3 separate regions of the Homo sapiens genome follow, and all the other regions are linked to region 3. Evidence: promoter capture Hi-C in human tissues and cell types (Jung and others, 2019). All regions are on one chromosome and are shown on one strand. The core of a region is centred on a gene start or on the middle of the fragment in contact, and the rest is flanking DNA. Distances in the headings are between cores, read along the strand shown.

The links. The method cuts DNA at HindIII sites, captures the fragments that hold promoters and counts their contacts. A contact is called where the count stands out against the background at its distance.
Region 1: a contact is called between the fragment with the promoter of SELENBP1 here and the fragment with the promoter of LYSMD1 in region 3, in 2 of the 25 tissues and cell types used here (liver and stomach).
Region 2: a contact is called between the fragment with the promoter of PSMB4 here and the fragment with the promoter of LYSMD1 in region 3, in 1 of the 25 tissues and cell types used here (heart right ventricle).

What each region holds. Positions count from the first base shown.
Region 1 is chr1:151,371,354-151,374,826 of GRCh38, reverse strand. It overlaps SELENBP1 (selenium binding protein 1), which reads left to right and starts at 2,122. Exons shown (of 12, transcript NM_003944.4): 1 at 2,122-2,189. The coding sequence starts at 2,186. RefSeq lists enhancers at 1,601-2,184, 2,185-2,768. The HindIII fragment of the contact is 19,764 bases long and covers 1-3,473 here.
Region 2 is chr1:151,397,443-151,401,249 of GRCh38, reverse strand. It overlaps PSMB4 (proteasome 20S subunit beta 4), which reads right to left and starts at 1,677. Exons shown (of 7, transcript NM_002796.3): 1 at 1,523-1,677; 2 at 1,063-1,269; 3 at 662-808; 4 at 405-486; 5 at 1-11. The coding sequence starts at 1,662. RefSeq lists a silencer at 950-1,107 and enhancers at 876-1,597, 1,948-1,997, 1,598-2,320. The HindIII fragment of the contact is 13,788 bases long and covers 1-3,807 here.
Region 3 is chr1:151,164,155-151,167,515 of GRCh38, reverse strand. It overlaps LYSMD1 (LysM domain containing 1), which reads left to right and starts at 1,614. Exons shown (of 3, transcript NM_212551.5): 1 at 1,614-2,437. The coding sequence starts at 2,258. It overlaps TNFAIP8L2-SCNM1 (TNFAIP8L2-SCNM1 readthrough), which reads right to left. Exons shown (of 7, transcript NR_144937.2): 2 at 975-1,045; 3 at 494-582; 4 at 298-395; 5 at 102-190. It overlaps SCNM1 (sodium channel modifier 1), which reads right to left and starts at 1,372. Exons shown (of 7, transcript NM_024041.4): 1 at 1,313-1,372; 2 at 975-1,045; 3 at 494-582; 4 at 298-395; 5 at 102-190. The coding sequence starts at 1,363. RefSeq lists enhancers at 1,324-1,373, 720-1,426, 1,394-1,673, 1,427-2,132. The HindIII fragment of the contact is 12,820 bases long and covers 1-3,361 here.

The sequences.
Region 1 (3,473 bases), core at 873-3,372, 210 kb before region 3:
AAAATTAACTTTGGGAGACCAAGGCAGATCACTTGAGCCCAAGAGTCTGAGACCAGTCTGGGCAACATAGTGAGACCCCCCATCTCTACAAAAAAAATTTAAAAATTATCCAGGTCAGCCAGGCACGGTGTCTCAGGCCTGTAATCCCAGCACTTTGGGAGGCGGAGGTGGGTGGATCACTTGAGGTCAGGAGTTCGAGACCAGCCTGTCCAACATGGTGAAACCCCGTCTCTACTAAAAATACAAAAATGAGCCAGGTATGGTTGTGGGCACCTGTAGTCCCAGCTACTCGGGAGGCTGAGGCAGGAGAATCGCCCCTCTACCTTTACTGCCTCCCTCTGTAGCCCAGATTAGGATAACTTCCCCAACCACCTGCTGGCTGTAGAGCAAGAGTTCAGGGAGAAAACCACAGGCAGAGGTGAGGGGTGCCATGGAGTTGCTGCAGAGACCAGCCAGGTCAGAGCTCAGGAGCATGAAAGAGGTAGTCAATGACAGACCACAACAAACAAAATAACAGCCTTTTTTTTTTTAAGTTAATGACTCAATAATTTTTTATGAGAAGGTGGGGATAAAGTTTCTTTCTCTTTCAGATCTTGGGTGGTGGACTAACCCAAGCCAAGAAGCCGGAGAATAGAGAGGAGGCAGGAGATGGAGACCTCAGGAGGAGGAAGAGGGGAGGGCCAGAGGGAAGGGTGAAGGCAGGGTGAGTGGAGGTAGTCAGGACAGGAGGAAGCTGGCAAAGACAAGGAAGCAGCCTTCAGGGCCTTCCCCGTGGGGCAGCTGCACACACAAGACTCTCTTTGATGCCTGGCAGGCTGATGGCACAATGGTGAGGATAATAGATGCAGGATGGAGCCAAGAGGGGTTGAGTGGCGCTGGGGATAAGAGAAGACCCTTGCCCCGGGCAGCCACAGGGAGTCTTCCTTGATGGGCACATGATCCCTCACTGATGGGAGCCAGGAAGACAGATACCCAATGCACCAAGGCCCAATTTTGCTCCCCTTCCCCCACTCTGGTTTGGAAACCCTGTATTCTACTTGCAATCTCAAGCCCAGACTTTATTCTTTTTCCTAGCCAATAAAAACTTCACCCCAGAGCTTTTATCCAAAGAGTATGAATATCTGGAATAAGAGGGCAATCTTAGGGAAGAAGTGACCCTGGCTGATGGGCCCACAGTCCCGGGTGCCCCTAAATGCTAAGAGACAGGTCCAAATACAAAGACGAGCATTTGGAGACACAGGAACACATACGTGCGCAGGCTTACACAAGCACATGCACAGCCACATAGCCACACACTACACATACACAAGCACTTATGCACATGTCCACACAGGCGTAGATACTCTAGCAAGCACATACTCACAGAGGCGCGCACACACACACACACACACACACAGGCGTAGATACTCTGGTAGGCACATACAGAGGCGCGCACACACACACACGCACAAATACACACAAGCACACTCACAGGCACATTCACACACGTGGAAATTCACACACAGGCACAGATACACACTCATGCAGGCACGTGCACGAGCAACACGCAGGTATACAGGAACACACACATGCCCAGACACACAAATCCACACACACCCAGGCACCCACTAAAGAGCACGAGCTGGTCAGGGGCAGCGGCTCACACCTGTGATCCCAGCACTTTGGGAGGCCGACACGGGTGGATCACCTGAGGTCAGGAGTTTGAGACCAGCCTGGCCAACATGGTGAAATCCCTTCTCTACTAAAAATACAAAATTGCTGGGCATGGTGGTGGGTGCCTGTAATCCCAGCTACTCGGGAGGATGAGGCAGGAGAATCACTTGAACCCAGGAGGCAGAGGTTGCAGTGAGCCGAGATCGCACCACTGCACTCCAGCCTGGGCAAGAGTGAGACCCTGTCTCTAAATAAATAAATAAATAAATAAAGCACAGGCTCCCACACATACACACTTAAACACATACACGCACACCCCATAATTCAAACACCAGTTGCCCTAGGCCACTTGAGAGTATCCTGGCCAGCTGCCCTGAGTAGTTTACTCTGGGCTACAGCCCGGGCCCTCCTCCTTCTCTGCCCCACCCCCAGCTGGTTGTATAAATTCCCTCCCTTCGCTCCTTCCCCGGAACAGCGGCCTCTGACACCAGCACAGCAAACCCGCCGGGATCAAAGTGTACCAGTCGGCAGCATGGGTAAGGAGAGGGGTTTCCAATCACCCATTGCCTGCTCTGTCTGCCCCTAATTTGGAAGGCCCTCCTCCAGAAAATGCTAGAAAACCTGAGTGGGGAGCTGGGGAGGGAGTAGTGGACTCTGCTTCATTGTCCCCAGTCTGCACACCCCCTCCCCCACCACCCCACTGCATTTCCCAGCTCAGCCAAACTTTCTGAGGAAGACGGGCAGAGGCACTGCTGGGAGATGGGATCCTGGGCCCTGACTTGGCTCCATCCAGCAGAGGCTGGGACCAGGGTGCCTTTCTGCAGCTGGGAAAATCAGATGGGCGCTCTTAGAAAACACCACTAGGTCCCTGGCCCTCACATAGTAGAGAGGTGATCCTGATTTCAGCCATGGGCCAACTTTGTACTCCAGCGAGGTAGGGAGTCCAAAGCCTTTCTGTGCCCAGGTCACTCTCTAGCTACTCCACACAGCAAAGCTCTCTGGGAGGGAAATCAGAGACCCCCACACTCTTTCACTGGGGACCTGTTTCAATGCCTCCCCCACCCCTAAATCCCCCTTGGCCCTGCTATTCCTCCATCTGTAGGCTTCTGGGTGACAGGCTAAGAAGGAACTGAGGTTTGGTTGGGAGGTCCTTCCCCGCTCGGGGCTGGCTCTTGAGCTGGCAGAATGCCGAGCTGGCAGAATGCCCAGCAGCCAGCCTGACATGGAAAACCCACTTGAGCTTTCCATGAGTCCATCCCAAACCCAAAGCTGCTCCGAGACCTTGCTTGAGATGTTTCAGATGGGGGTATTCCCCAGAAAGAGGAATGATGCTCCCTGGGGCTGCAGTGGCATGCCAGGCCTGACCCTAAGAAATGCTGGGGCTGGGGTTGCTGGGGTGTGGGGTGGGCCGAGGCTGCAGAGCGGGCAGCTCCATCTCTGCACTTTTACTTCCCTCTCAGCTTCTCCCTAGCTTTGTATTTTTTGTATCTCTGTCTTGAGGTCTTGGAGTTTTAAAATCTCCTTTCCCTTCTGTATCCAGCAACCTCCTTCCCCACCCCCTGTCATCTGGTGCCAAGCCCCGACTTAGCAAGATTGTGTAACAGAACCAGTCTCCTTAACTCCTGTGAACTGGACCTCTCTCTCTCTCCCTGCCCCACCTCCAGCCCTCTCGCTGGGCATCGAGCACTCCCTGGCATTCTCCTCTCCTCTGGCACAGCCCTTCCCATATTTACACAGTAATTCATTATTTTTTTTTTTTTTTAGTCAGAATTTCACTCTTGTTGCCCAGGCTGGAGTGACTGCAGTGGCGTGATTTCGGC
Region 2 (3,807 bases), core at 428-2,927, 230 kb before region 3:
CGCAGCAGAGGCTAGGGAGATTGGGGGAAAACCATGGGGGGATATTGGGCTGAATAACAGGCTAGTTGTCTCAAATCTATGGTATAAAAAGCATTAGAGTGAAAGATGACATTCTACTTCTTGCCTCACCAGAATGAACTCTGCTTAGAAAATAAGCTAAGAGCCACTTCAGGAAGAAGTTCTAGGGTGTCCTCTCTTTGCATGTCTACTGACTCCCAGTCATGTCATCTTGTCACTGGAATCAGTGTCAACACCTACAGCCCCCAGACTACAAAGAAAACCATCTGCCCAGTAATAGCGATCCCAGCCCATCCCTCATATCAGAATTTCAGGAGAAAAGCAGACAACCACTAATCCATTTCCTTTTGTCTTCCCTTTCCCCCACCTCTAGACTTACTACTTACCTGAGCCAAGTATGCACCATAACCAGTGGCCAGCGAAGGGGCTTCATAGGCTACACCAAGCATGTCCACATAACCGAGGAAGCTAACAGGACACAATGGGTCAAAACTCATTTCACCTTAGATTCATCTTAGCTGAAGAAGGGGACCATGGGGTCTGAGTTAAAGTGGGATTCACTTGGGGAGAAGAGACAGAAGAGATACTACACAGGTACTAGGTTGGGTGGTAAAGGAAATAAGTTATTTGTATTCATATGAACCTCTCTCCATCAGCATAGCCTCCGATGACCATGGTGTTCCACAAAGGGTTCATCTTCGAGCGCCGGCTGTACATGGCCCTGGTCAGCCATGAATGAATAGCTCTAGGACTATAGCTGTGTCCATCTCCCAGAAGCTCCTCATCAATCCTTAAAAGGAATTGGTTGTGAGAAAAGGGAGAGAATTAAGTCGGGGTCTCCACCCATCCCCAAAAGAAGTTACCACACCTTCCCCCATTTTACACCTAATGCCAAAAACTTTATTGCAAACACAGATCGCCCACCTCCAACAACTCTTCCAGTCCCCCGCTGCAACAAGTCCCCCCATCCCATCGAAGGGAATAAAAAACAGGGGACTCCCCTCTCTACTTGGGAACCACTCTCCTGTTCTCTGGATGACTTACACCATCTGGCCGAGAACTTGCTTCAAATACTGGAAATCAGCGTAGTCGCCAGAGGCACCCAGCATGGTACTGTTGTTGACTCGCATAATGCGAGAGATGTTGCGGAAACGAGCCAAGGAGCCGTAGGATCCCAGCATGTCTGCGGCAATCACCACTCCGCCCTCGAACTTAACGCCGAGGACTGAGGTCCCGGTCACCATGGGGTTCCTAAAGAGTGAGAACGGTGGGAGCTGAGAGGGGGGATGGACTGCGCCCTCTTTCCGCGCACTGAGCTGCGCTTCTGATTTTCTATAATTCCTTCCAATTATTCTGCATTCTCCAGGACTCCGCGCCCTGAGCTCCCCTGCCGTTCGCGCGCCCCCGGGGTCCCCGCCTCACCTTCCCGGGCTCTCAAAACCAGCCGGCAGCACCAGGCCCCACGGTCCCTCCCGCTACGCAAACGAAAGCGCCGAGAACTTACTGGGTCCGCGTGATTGGACCTCTGTAAAGTGCAGACGCCGGATCCATGAAGGAATCGGGAGTGGACGGAATGCGGTAAAACTGTCCTGGGGCCGGACCCCCCGCCCAAAGTCCGGACCGCGACCCCAAAAACGCTTCCATCTTAGTCACGGTAGCAGAAAAAATGAAAGCGCTTGCGCCAACGGAAGCGGAAGTGATCCTTCAGTGTCATTTCTTTCTTTTTCCTGTAGACGACTTCCAGCAGCCATGTTGATGAGGTCGTAGCTGAACATGCAGTAATCCTAGGTGGCGACCGAGACAGGGAGTTGAAATTGCCCAACATCGCTTCGCATCGCATCGCATCTCCGTGGAGTTTGGACCAGATCACAGCGTTCTAACACACGATTCAAGGAGGAGGGAGGCATGAAGGTGGGGTGGGGAGGTGGCCACTTAAAGACGCTGATCCTGAGTGAGACGTCACAATTTTTTATTTTATTTTTTATTTTTTTGAGACGGAGTCTCGCTCTGGCCCCCAGGCTGGAATGCAGTGGCGCGATCTCGGCTCACTGCAACCTCCGCCTCCCAGATTCAAGCGATTCTCGTGCCTTAGCCTCCCGAGTAGCTGGGATTACAGGCGCCTGCCACCACGCCTGGCTAATTTTTTGTATTTTTGCTAGAGATGGGGTTTCACCATGTTGGCCAGGCTGGTCTCGAACTCCGGATCTCAGGTGATCCGCCTGCCTCGGACTCCCAAAGTGCTGGGATTACAGGAGTAAGCCGCCTCGCCCGGCCTAGAAGTCACAGTTCTCATGTTCCTTTTGTATCATTATCAAAAAGCCCACATGAAAATATCAGTGAACACAGGATCTCTTACATCTGTACTCCTCAGAGCAGCCCCATGTGGCAGGCATTATTCGACCCATTTGGTAAATAGGAAACCGAGGCTTGCGGTGTAGTGATTTACCCAGTCACACAGCCGATAACGGTAGAACTGAATCTTGAAGCTAGAATAAAAAAAGGAATCAGGGCCGGGTGCGGTGGCTCATGCCTGTAATCCCAGAACTTTGGGAGGCCAAGACGGGAGGATCACTTGAACCCAGGAATTCAAGACCAGCCTTGGCAACATGGTGAGACCTCACCTCTACAAAACAAAACAAAACAAAAAATTAGCCAGGCCTGTAATTCCAGCTACTTGGGAGGGTGAGGTGGGAGAATCGCCTGAACCCGAGGGAGGTTGCAGTGAGCCAAGGTGGCGCCACTGCACTCCAGCCTGGGCAACAGAGCGAGACCCTGTCACAAAAAAAAAAAAAAAAAAAAAAAAAAAAAGAATACACTTGTGTATACCCTGTGGGGTGTGATAGCTCAGGTGGATCAAGCACTCTCTGTGGGACCTTAGACAAGTCTGAAAGTTTCCTTATTGTCAAGGGCCCTTGCCCACCTCTAAAGAAACAGAAAAATTCCATTGGAAGTGTAGGGGTGAAACTAAATTCCAGGGGTTTCCTTCTCAGTGTAACTCCATAGCAGGGGCTGGAAACTGTCTTGAATCAAACTGGTGAATTTTGTCAAAGATAAACAAAGCCGGACACTAAAGTGGAAAGGACAGATTTCAATCAGTAATAACTACTACAATAAGGAAAAACAGTTCAGCATGAACTGAACTCAACTGCAATTTGTATGCAAGTAATGGGTATTTTATAGGGAAAATGAGGTTAGGGGACAGTGAGACAGAGGGTCAGTAGAGTCAGGGAAGTGAACATTTACAGAATTAGTCAATGTAAATGTGCTTAGGTCAATGATGTCTGCTAGCTGGCATTTATGGAAGTTAGGATTCCATCCTCCCACAGAGACTGGTGAGGATACCATCCTCAACACTGTCCTTAGGTGTCTTTTGTTTGTTTGTTTTTTGAGACAAGGTCTGGCTCTGTCACCCAGGCTGGAGTGCAGTGGCATGATCTCGGCTCACTGCGACCCTTGCCTCCCCGGCTCCAGCGATCCTCCAGCTGCAACCTCTCGAGTAGCTGGGGACTACAGATGCCACACCCGGCTAATTTTTGTTTTTGTTTTTTTTCTTTTTTTCTTATTTTGAGAGGGAGTCTTGCTCTGTTGCACAGGCTGGAGTGCAGTGGCACGATCTCAACTCAAAGCAGCCTCCGCCTCCCTGGTTCAAGCGATTCTCCAGCCTCAGCCTCCTCAGTAGCTGGGATTACAGGGGTGCACAACCATGCCCAGCTAATTTTTTTTTTGTTGTTGTTGTTGTATTTTTAGTAGAGATGGGGTTTCATCACACTGGCCAGGTTGGTCTCAAAC
Region 3 (3,361 bases), core at 365-2,864:
CTCCAGAACACTAGTATTCCTCAGAATACACACTGGAAAACTCTTTTAGAGCCATCTGTCTCCTTCTGAGCCTTCCTACCTCTGGCTTTCCCGTCCCATACCTGTACTTCCGGCGGCAGCAACTGTTATAGTGGGGAGCTCTGTGCAGAGCACTCTGGGTGATAAGTCGTGTCTGAGTTAGCAGAGGAGCCTGGTAAGGAGATGGGAGACAGAGTCAGAGCCTTCAGCCCTCCGCCCTTCCAGCCTGGTGTGTGCAGCAGGGTCTTGCCTAGAACACACTCTCCACTCTCTGATTACCTCAGCTTTGGTTTCTTCCCTTCTCAATTCATTCTGATGTTTTGGATTCTGCTTTCTTTCCTTTCCCGGCTGCTTCTTGCCATAGAAAAGCTGCAAGCCTGAGGAGAAAGGGAAACAGAATTAAAAGCATAGCACCAAGAGTGGTGTGCAGAGATTTCGAGGGTTTATTCCCCATCCCGTCTTCCCCCTAACTTACTGGACAGATGTTTCTTGCCTGCACGGTGGGCAGTCAGCATGGCCAGGGTGTCCAGTACCGGTCGATGGGGGCAGATGGCACAAGCAAAGCTGAGCAGGGGTAGAGAAGAGGATAAGTGGTCCAGGGGAAGAGGGTTGGGCCCGTCCCTGCCATAGGTCCCACCCTGTCCTAGCAGTCTTTGCAAAACCCAACTCCCTGGTGACCCAATCTCCACTTCTTCCAGTCCTCACTGGCCGCCAAAGAATCCTAGGTACTCCTGCTGTCCTAATTAATAACAAAAGTTTGTTGAAGCCAGGCGTGGTGGCATGCGCTTGTAAACCCAGCTAATCGCGACGCTGAGGAGGCAGGATCACTTGAGCCCTAGAGTTCGAGGGCAGCCTGGGCAGCACCGCGAGACCTCCGTCTCAAAGGAAAAAAAAAAAAAAGTCTATTGAGCCTCTAACCGCAGAACCCTCAGGCTTGAGCCACTCCTTGCTCTTACCGTCCATCCCGAAGCATCAGCGCCTCATCCTCTGGAATGTAACTGGCTAGGAGGTCCCCGACTCTTCTTTTCTGCAGGGAGTAGGGGAAGAAATCCGGACGGGATCAGCGGGATAGGAGAGAGGGGTGGAAGTGAAATTATAGAAATGAGGAGTGAAATGGAATAAGGACCCTGGGGAGAACAGCGATCATAGACCGAAAAAGGAGTCACTACACAGCTCTAAGTCGCCTGGTTCTCTCCTGCACCCCCGAGTTGTTGCCAGAGCAATGAAACAAAGCTCCTTCCCAACCTTCAGGGAGCGACTGAAGCGGCTCCAGATCCTCTCCGCTCACGCTTACTTTGAGCACATTGAGTTGACTCCAATCGTCTCCTTCCCTCTTGAAAGACATCACGACTGTGAGTCCCAGAAGTGATAAATTCTCTGTTCCGGTTTCGCCACTCCTCCAGGCCACCGTAGCAAGAGCGGGACAGCGCCTTCTCTTTTTTCCTTCTCTTCCTGTCGGCCTCCGTACTTCCGGGGACGCACTTCCACGCATGCATTGCGCGATCCGGAAATCCACTCTCTGGTGCTCGGAGGGAACTGCATTTCCTATGGTGCCCTGCGACTCCGCAGACGCGGAGCCTTTTGGGAAATGAAGTCTTTTCTCAAAGACCTTGCCGCTCAACTGGATCCAGGCCCTTGCATCTTGGCGGATCTGAGGCGTTTGGAGGGACAACAACCTAGATGTGGAGCCGAAATTTGAGGGTGTGACCTATCTTATGCGGAGCGGACCTTTGAGGATCTCTGAGTGGAAGGTGTACTACAAATTCTTGCAATCCTCACGCTCTTCGTCTGCGGCGACAGTTCACCTGGGGTGGGCCTGATTTGTTCCTGACTCTAGCAAACAAACCCCGGGACCGGGGAGAGCTGGGATGTTGGAGCGCCCTGAGGCCAGGCTACTTGGGGGCAAACTGAGGAAAGAGTGTTGAGGATTATTTCTAGAGTTCAAAGGTCAGAGGTCAATGTAGCGAGGAGTTGTGGGGGAGTCCAAAGTCGGAGGGGTGCTTAGGGGAGAATTAGGGAGGGACTGAATACTCAAGGGACAGATTTGTGGATAAGTAGCTTGGAGGGAGGAGAAACCGGGAGGGGGCAGATGGCGTAGTGCTGGGGAGGCGGGGACACAGGGGAAGAGAGAGGGGGAAAGGAATCCCCTGAATATTCATTCCCAGACTTCAGGCCTGTCAGTCGCAGTCTCGGTCGTACCTCCCCTAGTTGCAACCTTAGCTGTTGGCAGGGTGAAGAGATGGCTTCCCCGTCTAGACAGCCCCCGCCAGGGGGGTCAGGACTGCTTCAAGGGAGCCGGGCTCGTTCATATGGAAGCCTGGTGCAATCGGCCTGCTCCCCAGTGAGGGAAAGACGCCTGGAGCATCAGTTGGAGCCCGGAGACACCCTGGCTGGACTAGCACTCAAATATGGGGTGACGGTGAGTTTTCCAGGATTGGGGTGAAGACAACAGTCAGGAGGGATTTAGTCCTGAGAAGAATGTAGTGGCCCTTCTAGGTAACCTCCCCTGAAATGTTCCTAATGTGTTGCACTCTGTTCTGCCTTTATCTTTGTTTTCCCATCACAGTGTTGCACAAGTCCTGCCCTACTATTCCAACGGAGAGGAACAGCTCCTATTTTATTATGCCAGACACTGTGCTGAGGGCTTCACATACGTTAGCTCATTTCACCCTCACATCTGTATCAAGTATACATTTATCGTTCCCTTTTGGCAGATGAAGAAACTGAGACTTGGATTGGTTAACCAGTTTGGCTAAGGTCAAATAATGAGCGTCAGATTTGGGATTCAAACAGGTCTGTCTGACTCTATTAACCACACAGAAAATTTTATGTTGAGAGTGATTAAACGTTTACAGCAACTAATGGAGAGCTGATTTTTAGTTCTCAGTTCCTAAAGTGCCCACCTCTCCTTGCTCTTGGTTCCTCCTCAATGCTCTGCCTTCTTTCCAGTAAGGTGGCCTCCTTTGTGCAAAACAGGTACTCTACACCAAGTATTTCAGGTCATGCATGGGGGAAATTGGATAGATGTAAAAATGTACAGCATTGAAGTTGATGGGGTTACTCCCCCTATCCCTGCCCCTGTTTTCTTGTTCCATCTCACTCAAACAAATGTTGAATTTAGCCAACATTTTTATGCTTGCTGTATTTAAAGCACTGTGATAACTTTTCTGGGAGATAGAAACTTAAACTATATGGTTGCTGTCCTCATGTAATTTATGGCCTAATGAGAAATGAACAGGGACACAAATAATGATTACAAGTGACAGAATGTGGTGAGTTTGTAAAGGTATTAACAACGAATAGGGGTCAGGCATGGTGGCTCACCCCTGTAATCCCAGCACTT